3 separate regions of the Homo sapiens genome follow, and regions 1 and 3 are each linked to region 2. The links are contacts of gene promoters, found by promoter capture Hi-C in blood cells and fetal thymus (Javierre and others, 2016). All regions are on one chromosome and are shown on one strand. Each heading gives the region's core, a stretch centred on a gene start or on the middle of the fragment in contact. The rest is flanking DNA. Distances are from core to core; before and after follow the strand shown. Region 1 has its middle 28 kb from the start of POU3F2. Region 2 holds the start of MMS22L (MMS22 like, DNA repair protein). Region 3 overlaps FBXL4 (F-box and leucine rich repeat protein 4).

Region 1 (3,002 bases), core at 397-2,896, 1.6 Mb before region 2:
CAAAGATTCTTGGTCAGAAAAACCTCAGAATTTTTACTTTTGATAATCTTTCTGTTTCAGGTACCAGACTTTTAATCCAGATTTGGGAGCATATATGTATTAGCTTTTATTAGAGTACAATGGGTAACAAACTACCTCAACTGTTTCAGTAGCTTTCAACAACATATATTTTTCATTGTGTGGCTTGTTGGCTACTGTGGGTTAATTGCTCTGGCTGCACTTCAGGATGTGATTCAGGTTCAGGTTTACTCTATTCAGGCCCTGGGCTGAAAGAGAAGGTCCTACCTGGGCTATGCCCTTGTAGTGGCAGAGGGCACTAAAGCAAGAGAACTGGCAGCACTGGGAAATGCATTGAAAAGCTCATCAAGTCTGTTTGCATTGTGTTGACCAAGCAAGTCATGTGGCTAAACCCAGTCATTGGTCAGCAAAGCTACTCTTCCTATAGGGAACTATTGTAAGTCACATCCAAAGGTTTTGGGAACAAATAATTCTGAATAATAATACCCAAGGTACTACAATGTACTACAAATATTTCAGCTTTCTGTAAGTAGCCAAAATATCTTAATATAAAACAAAATAACCTCTTAATTTTAAAAAAATAAGTATAATATTGAATACACTGGTTTAGGTTCAGAATTTTTAGAAAGATCCTCACTGTAAGATTTTCCCAAATAATCACCTAATTCCATGGGAAATAAAAAATAGGATAAACTAATAGAAATATTTCTGAAACAAGAGTCATGAGGAATCCATAATCAACTGTGCTACCTTTTGACTATTTAACTTTGCATCTCAACTTCCTCATCTGTAAACTAAGAAAGTTGTTCCACACTTTTACACTGTTGGCGAGACTGTAAACTAGTTCAGCCATTGTGGAAGTCAGTGTGGTGATTCCTCAGGGATCTAGAACTAGAAATACCATTTGACCCAGCCATCCCATTACTGGGTATATACCCAAAGGATTATAAATCATGCTGCTACAAAGACACATGCACACGTATGCTTATTGCGGCACTATTCACAATAGCAAAGACTTGGAACCAACCCAAATGTCCAGCAGTGATAGACTGGATTAAGAAAATGTGGCACATATACACCATGGAATACTATGCAGCCATAAAAAATGATGAGTTCATGTCCTTTGTAGGGATATGGATGAAGCTGGAAACCATCATTCTCAGCAAACTATCACAAGGACAAAAAACCAAACACCGCATGTTCTCACTCATAGGTGGGAATTGAACAATGAGAACACATGGACACAGGAAGGGGAACATCACACTTTGGGGCCTGTTGTGGGGTGGGGGGAGGGGGGAGGGATAGCATTAGGAGATATACCTAATGTTAAATGACAAGTTAATGAGTGCAGCACACCAACATGGCACATGTATACATATGTAACAAACCTGCACGTTGTACACATGTACCCTAAAACTTAAAAGTATAATAATAATAAAAAAATAAAAATTGTTCCAAAAGCTTTCTGAGGTCATTCTCAGTGTAAAGGTCTCATTCTAATGCTTTTTTATTGTCACCTAATTAACAAAGCATATCCTTCTGCAATTTTTATTATAGTTTAGCTCAGTTTTTCTTAGAATTATGGCAGAGCAATAAAACTTTAATTTTCTTTTATTCAAATCCCTCTTCAAAAATGGATTTGAGATAAAGTAATAAGATATGATCTTCCTTGTTTTTACTTAGTATTCAAATAGTGGAACCTAGCTTTAAAATAGTCAAGTCACTAAAATACTCTTCCTTTACAGTGAGAGTCACTGATACAAACATGTATGTGTAAGAACCATGTGGAAGCTTGTTTAAAATGTAAATTTCCAGTCCACAAACGCCTGGAGATTCTGATACTACAAAGAACCCAGAAAACTACATTTTTAACAAGTACCCCAGGTTTCCAAAGTGACCTAAGCAGTACAAACCATATAAATTATTTTGGTAATAGTGGGGAAAAAAAAACTTTCACATGCTGGGATACTACATACTTAGTATAATTAAAATTAGTTGTTAATACCATGTGTCTCATTGGTGTTTGTATTTTATCTTTATGAATTAATTTTTGTCACTACATTTAGTGTATTGGACTATACACTAGTCCAGTGCTATAAATTATCACTATAAGTGATGGTATTATGTTTGTATATAAATTTTAGAAATGTAGAAACCAAAATACCTTAATGTTTGAAATGAAAGTGCTTTGATTAGTATTAGCATTCCCCAGAAACATACAGGGTAGGTCAATCTCAGAATGAAATACTATGAAATGAGAACTACTGTTGAGTTATTACATCCAATCTCTTTGCTTCTTCCTTGTTTCCTTACAATCTAGTGCTCCTTTTAAAACATAGTCAGATTATGTCATTTCTGTGCCTAAAACCCTTCCGAATAAAAACCAAAGCCCTTTATCTTTGCTACCTGTAAAACTTATGTCCACAGCTCCTTCCCCTACCCCTATCCCCACCCCCAGCTCTCTGTACTATGCTCCTTGCTGAAATGCTCCGCTTAAAGTGCTCTTCCCCATATATCTTCACCACTCCAGGTCTCACTTTTTTCAGGTGTCTGCTCAAATATTGCCTATGCACAGAGGCCTTTATTGACCACCCAAAATAAAACAGCATATTCCCCTCTCCTCATCAATCACTAGCCCTTGTAACTTGCTATATTTTTATTTATAGCACTTATAACTATTTGACATGTTTTCGTTTGTGTCCACTCCTCTATAATTTTAAGCTCCTCAAGCACAAGGACTTTTGTCTTGGCACTGCTATATTGCCAGGACTTAGAATAGTGTCTGGCACATAGTAGGTACTCAATAAATAATTGTTTGACAAATACTGGTGATTATCCACAGCTTGGCCTGTCTCCAGTATAAGGCAAGGCTATTAAAATCCAAATTTTATAAAGTAGGCAATGTTTTTAAAGGCAGTTTTATTTTCTGTTAATTTCCCATCTATTTTGAAAGTCATTTTAATTTATTACTTTCAGAATTATCC
Region 2 (3,125 bases), core at 142-2,641:
TCCTGGTCTCAAGGGATCCACCTACTTCAGCCTCCCAAAGCCACTGTGCCTGCCCTGGCCTGAAGTTTTCTTGTAAGAAGTGGTGTGTGTGTGTGTGTGTGTGTGTGTGTGTGTGTGTGTGTGCAGAGAGAGAGGAGGGAGGCTTAACCAAAGATTCTGAGTACTACGATAAATACAGAGATACTCAAATTTTCTTCTTTTGTTGATTTTTGACAGTTTGCGTCTTTTAAGGAATTTGTCCATTTCACCTATGCTTATTGGCATAAAAATGTTCATAATGTTCTTTTAATATCCTTGTCCTTTTAATGACTAAATTTCATAGTGATGAAACCTTTTTAATTCCTGATACTGATAATTTGTTTATTTTCTTTATCAGTTTGGGTAGGGGGGTTATCAATTATATTGCTCTTTTAGAAAAACAACTTTTGCATGTATTTCCTTCCATTTATTTCATCCCATTTATTTCTACTATTTATCATTTCATTCATTTTGCTTGCTTTGGTTTCAATATGCTGGGGGTTTTTTCTAGTTACTTAAGACAAAAGTTTATTGAATTGAGTTCTTCTTTTTAATGTAAGCAGGTACTGTTACAAATTTTAGTGTTTTCATTTTAATTTAATTCAACGTATTTTCTAATTTTCCTGTGATTTTTCCTGATTCACAGGTTAGTTAGAAGTATGATTCTTAATTTCCAAATATTTAGAGTATTTCAAGTATCTACTTTATTTCTAGTTTAATGCCATTATGATCAGACTATACACTTTGTACGATTTAAATCTTTTTAAAGTTGATGACATTTGTTTTATGGCTCGGAATATGGTATCGCTTAGTGAATGTTTCATGTGCACTTGACAGGAGTGTGTATTCTGCTATTGTTGGGTTGGTCACCTATAAACGTCAATTAGGTCAAGTTGGTTAGTGCTTTCCAAGTTTTCCATATCCATACTAATTTTCTGTCTACTTGTTCCATCTGTTACAGAGAAAATTAATTGTTGCACTTGCCTGCCTCACAGTCCATGGACAAAAGGCATCTGCATTCTAACAAGAGTTGCTGGCCCCAGAGCGGGAAGAGGGGACGGCGCGACTGTGGGTGTGAACGAGGCACTCACTTCGCACTCACTGGAGTAAATATCTTCTCTTTGGTCCGGCCAGAGGATAAACCCATAGTCCTTAAGTCCTCTCCTCCGCCTCAGCAGCAGTTCTGTTTTTTTTTTTTTACCAGGCCCCGCCTTTCAGCCGAACGCACCAATTAAAGGTACAAAAAAAAAAGTTTCTCAGTACCTCGTCCCGGACTGACGGACTCTCGCGAGAATTCGTGGGGCTCCGACTGTTTCCGCGCAGATATCGCGAGGCGATTGGTAGCCGGGGGAGGGCTGCGCCGTGGCCCCGCCTTTCCGGAGCGCGGGCGCGCGGTGGCGGGAATTTCGCCTGTTTGCGGTTTAGACCCCAAAGATTCCTGTTGGTGGTCTGGGTCACAGGAGGCAGGTTTCGGGAGCTGGAAATGTGAGCGGGTACGACAGGCACCGCGGGTAACCGACGCCCCGGGTCCTTGCTGCAGCCGGGTACGCGGGATACCGGCACCCCGCCTTCTCCGCCCGAGTGCTGCCAGGCGTGGGCCTGGTGGGTCTCGCCTCCTCCTTGGAGGGTCGGGGTTGGCCCTAGGGGTTGCTTTCCTAATTTCCACCCCGAGCCGGGGAGGGAGCGTTCTCCACCCTGCTGCTGGGAAACGGGCGGAGAGTGGTTTAGAAACGTTGCGGAGGGCGCAGTTCTAGGCAAGCCCGGGACGCTATGTCCTGCAGACATTTCTTTGCTTTTCACCTTGTCCTGGGCTGCAGAGCCCGACTTAGTGGCCGGATTTCGAGGTCCCTGCCACAGCCAGTTGGTTGTGCATTTTGTCTTAAGTTCTGACAGCCTTGATGGACGGAGGGCGAGGGGGAATTGGGAATTTGGCCTCTGGGTTTGTTCGTTTGTTTTTCCTTCCTGCTGGCGGACGTCTTGAGAACTTTCTGAAGTAATCCCCACTCTCTCGGCCCCACCCCCCCCCCCCCAACAGGAATCTCTTCACACCTTCTCTTTGGAGCCCTTAATGATACGACGAACCCCAAGTGTTTCAGAACATGAAGTAAACAATGGAGAACTGTTCTGCTGCATCGACGTTCCTGACTGACAGCTTAGAGCTGGAGCTGGGGACGGAATGGTGCAAACCTCCTTACTTTTCTTGTGCTGTTGACAACAGAGGAGGAGGAAAACATTTTTCTGGAGAATCCTACCTCTGCAGCGGAGCCCTTAAGCGGTAGGTAAAACTCAGAGACATTTTCCCTCATCTGATTATTCACCAGTTTTTTAGGAATGTTAGTTATTTCAGCCCATTAAACTTTGGTGTTCACCAAGTCGTGTTTTATAAATCAGCTTAGTATATCATAAGGGTACAAATGATTATCAGTTCTGCTGGCTTCTTGGTAAGGGCATATCTAAAGTATTTGGGGTATTAGGGAAAACTTCCTTGGTAACTGATGTTCCCTTACTGTAGGGAGCTGGGCACTAATTTTTCTTCTACTTAAAATGAATTCCTAACTATCTGAGCCTTTTGCAGTAGTATTTCCTTCTAAAGAGTGTGATAATATTCTAGAGCTTTCCAGTAATATTTAAGAGAGACAAACATTTTTTATTGCCCCTGTTCCTTCTAATCCTACCTGCACATATAGAAGTGTATAGACTTATTTTGCCTTGGGCAGGTACATATATATTACAGTAAAACTGTTCTTGAAATATTTTGGTAATACCTGCTGAGGCAGTTTCAGTGAGGAAACTATTTTTGTTGACCTTATAGTTGTACCTTGTTAGAAATCTTAAATAGAATACTCAACTTCATTAGTTGGATACTATTCTCCAGACATGGCTCAGAATAACTGTTAGCAGTTTTAAAATTAAATGTCCCCTCAAAGGATGAAATTCTACAACTGAAGACTACTGGTGAAGACAGGCAGAAATATGTTTTTTAGAATTCTTGTTGATTTTTCCTCTTAAGTTACATTACACTTTAGTCGTACATTTTATCAATATAGAAGATTGACGTTTTAATACAGTCTAGCTATTGTAATCTTGAATGTGTAAAGTACCAAGGC
Region 3 (3,167 bases), core at 489-2,988, 1.6 Mb before region 2:
AACCTCCTAATTTTACAAAATATTAATATAATGCAGTCTCACATGTACCCTGTTCTCCATGTGCCTAGGACCCATTCCTCCCTCGAAGAAACCACTTTTATCAGCTCATTTTGTATCTTTCCAGAATTTCTTTGTGCAGACACAAGCAAATACAAATATAATTTTATATTTTTATACACAAAAGTAAGCATATTTATCACACTGTTCTGTACCTTGTTTCACACAGTAGTATATGTTGGATCTTTTCTTGTAAGTACAAAGAGAGCTTCCTCATTCTTTCCTGCATTTGCAAGTAATGCATAGTGTGTATGAACCCCAACTTATTAACTAGTCCCCCATTGATGGGCACTTAGTTGTTTCTAGTCTTTTGCTCTTATAAACATTAATGCAGGGAATGACCTTATCATAAGTCACTTTGCATGTGTGCAAGTATATCTGTGGGATAAATTTCCTAGAAGAAGGCTACTCAACCAAGGATAATTTGATAATTTTGTAATGTTTAACATTTTTTTTTTGCATTTTAACAATTTATTCTTAGTTACATTTAATTTTAATTTTTAACAGTTGTAATTTTCATATGTAATGCCAAATTTCTCTCCAAAGAGTCTGTACTATTTATATTCCCACTAGCAGGGCATGTACATGGGTGTTTTGCCAAAGCCTCGCCTACAGAGTATGTTTATAAATTTCAATATTTTTGCAATTTAATAGGTGAAAAATGTTATCTCATGTTAACTGTTAAAATTCTTTTATTATCTCTGAGGTTGAAATCTTTTCATATGTTTAAAAGCCATTTATATTTCTTTTTCCTTTAACTATCTGATCATATTATTTGCTCATTTTTTCTATTACTCATGGATCTTAGCAGTTTCTAGGACTTCATATCACTTTATTAAATCACTCGTTCATTAAATATTTTAGTGCCTACCTAATGTGCTAGGTGTTGTTCTAGGTATTAGAGATGTGTCAGCGAGCAGTGAACAAAATAAATAAAAATTCCCGCTCTCATTCTAGCCTGAGAGCAGATCAGGGCACCTGTTCAACTGTAGGGATGGCCAGCTGCCAGTGCAGGAGGAGGCGGGCAGAGGTCAGCTGCTACCTCCGTAACATGCAGCTCCTCTGATATCTCTGTCCCCTCATCTCTAAGGGAATACTTCCAGGGCCTGCCAGAAAACATACAGAGTACAGCTCAACTTGGAGATTGCTGGTATAATCTTTACTTTTTTTTCCAGAACTACCTAATAATTCATTGCAAATAATGTTATTAGTCGTTTTTTAAACTCAGAAAGCCAGCATACCTTAATTAAAATCAGATTTTTGTTTTCTCCCTAAGAGGAAAAAATGGAGTAGGATCTTTTGTTTTGTTTTGAGACAGGGTCTCACTCTGTCGCCCAGGCTGGAGTGTAGTGGCACGATCTTGGCTCACTGCAACCTCTGCCTCTCGGGTTAATGAGATTCTCCTGCCTCAGCCACCTGAGCGGCTGGGATTACAGGTGCGTGCCACCATGCCTGGCTAATTTTTGTATTTTTAATAGAGATGGGGTTTCACCAGGTTGGGCAGGCTGGTCTCGAACTCTTGACCTCAGGTGATCCGCCTGCCTCGGCCTCCCAAAGTGCTGGAATTACAGATGGGAGCCACTGTGCATGGCAGGATCTTTTCTTATATGAGAATTGTTTTATTAGGACTCTGACATTCTTCTTACAAAGTTACCTACTTTTTTCCAAAAATCTGAAAAGATTTAGGGAGGAGATCAATGGAACATGTAATGTGTTTTCTCCAGTCTAAAACTTAACAGCTGCATAACTAATTTTAAGTACAAATCATGCTCTTGGGTTACTGAGAGTTACTGGTATATGGTTGTGATTAAAGTTAAAACTTTATTTATACCTGTATCTCTAATTTTCTTTACTGATTTTCAGCTTTAGTCTACTGAAAATACCATTACATTTTAAGAGAAAAAAAGGTGACCAATATATTATTAAGATATAAGAAAAAGCCTTTTTAAATTTTACTGATTATGAAATCAATAGATGTTTCATTGTTTAAAAATAATCTAGAAAATACCAAAAAAAAAGGAAAATATATATGAAAAAAATCTGTAATTCTTCTGCCCAGATTCAGTAACTGTTAACATTTGGGTGAATTTTTTATACAATCAGAAACATTTATTGAACACCCTCTCTGCCAGTTCACTGCTAGGAACCAAGTAGAGAGTCAGACAGAGATGGCTCTTTTTTGAGCTTACAGGCCAGCCTAGAAGAGGACCATGAGGAACATGTATTGGCAGAGGGGAGAACCTAATCTGTGGGCTCAGAGAAGGCTTCCCTGGGGAAGTGACTTACCTGGGACCTGAGGGTTGAGTGAGGCTCCAGTGTGGATAGGAAAGGAGGAGAGACAACAGCACATTTGAACGTGAGATCATGAGCTAAGATCATGGTGTTTGAAGAAGTGAGAAAAGTCCAAGAATGCAGAGAATAAGCTGTTGGCAACTGGAGACATGGGAGTAACATTCTTAAGATCTAAACTAGGGGTTTCTAGACTTTGGGATTTTATAGATTTTTTTGGATCCAGCTTCCCAGAAGAATATCTTGAGGTGACTATTCCTGTGCAATTTTTATGGAAATTTTTGTGGAAATTTTTTTATGAAGATACTCTAGGAGAAGCTAGTAAAGGAGTAGGGAAAGCATGATGGGAAAAATCAAGCAAGGATGCAATATCATGTGAAGTCCCAGTCTGCTGGGAGGCAAAGTTGCTAGAGAGCTGGGCCCTTATACTCCTGCACCAGCCAGACTTTTACCATGGGCTGGAAGGGTGGGAAAGGGGGACTGTCAATCTTCTAGGCACATGTCACTCCCTAGATGAAGCCCAAGGTAGTTCTGTGAAGAAGGTTGTAAGTGTAAACCCTTAGGAGCAAAGCAAGCCCATCTGCAGGGTGGCACATAGAACTGATGAGATGGGGGATGTGCATGTGAATGGAGTTCAGGTGGGAGGAGTCAGTCACAATAAACTAGTAACATAATAATCATCATAAAAATTAGGGAACTCATAGACTTGTCAGATTATTTACTTTGCTAAATTAACATACAGTAAAAAGACAAACAAAATGCCAATGTTACCTGTCATCACCATTATTTCATAAAAGTTTATGCATCTGTTCAAAAAAAAT

The links. Contacts are between HindIII fragments. The CHiCAGO score rates a contact against its expected background, and 5 or more counts as called.
Region 1: a fragment that was not itself captured here is called in contact with the fragment with the promoter of MMS22L in region 2 in 1 of 17 cell types (total B cells); the score reaches 5.9 in total B cells.
Region 3: a contact is called between a fragment that was not itself captured here and the fragment with the promoter of MMS22L in region 2, in 4 of 17 cell types (M0 macrophages, naive CD8 T cells, total CD4 T cells and 1 more). The highest score is 8.5, in M0 macrophages.

What each region holds. Positions count from the first base shown.
Region 1 is chr6:98,860,689-98,863,690 of GRCh38, reverse strand. No RefSeq gene overlaps it. Among named protein-coding and RNA genes, the nearest start is that of POU3F2, 28 kb to the right of the region's middle. The HindIII fragment of the contact is 330 bases long and covers 1,482-1,811 here.
Region 2 is chr6:97,281,482-97,284,606 of GRCh38, reverse strand. It overlaps MMS22L (MMS22 like, DNA repair protein), which reads left to right and starts at 1,391. Exons shown (of 25, transcript NM_001350599.2): 1 at 1,391-1,511; 2 at 2,054-2,293. The coding sequence starts at 2,130. RefSeq lists enhancers at 1,115-1,174, 1,555-1,814. The HindIII fragment of the contact is 13,882 bases long and covers 1-3,125 here.
Region 3 is chr6:98,922,758-98,925,924 of GRCh38, reverse strand. The region is part of intron 4 of FBXL4 (F-box and leucine rich repeat protein 4); the gene reads left to right. Among named protein-coding and RNA genes, the nearest start is that of FBXL4, 24 kb to the left of the region's middle. The HindIII fragment of the contact is 5,637 bases long and covers 1-3,167 here.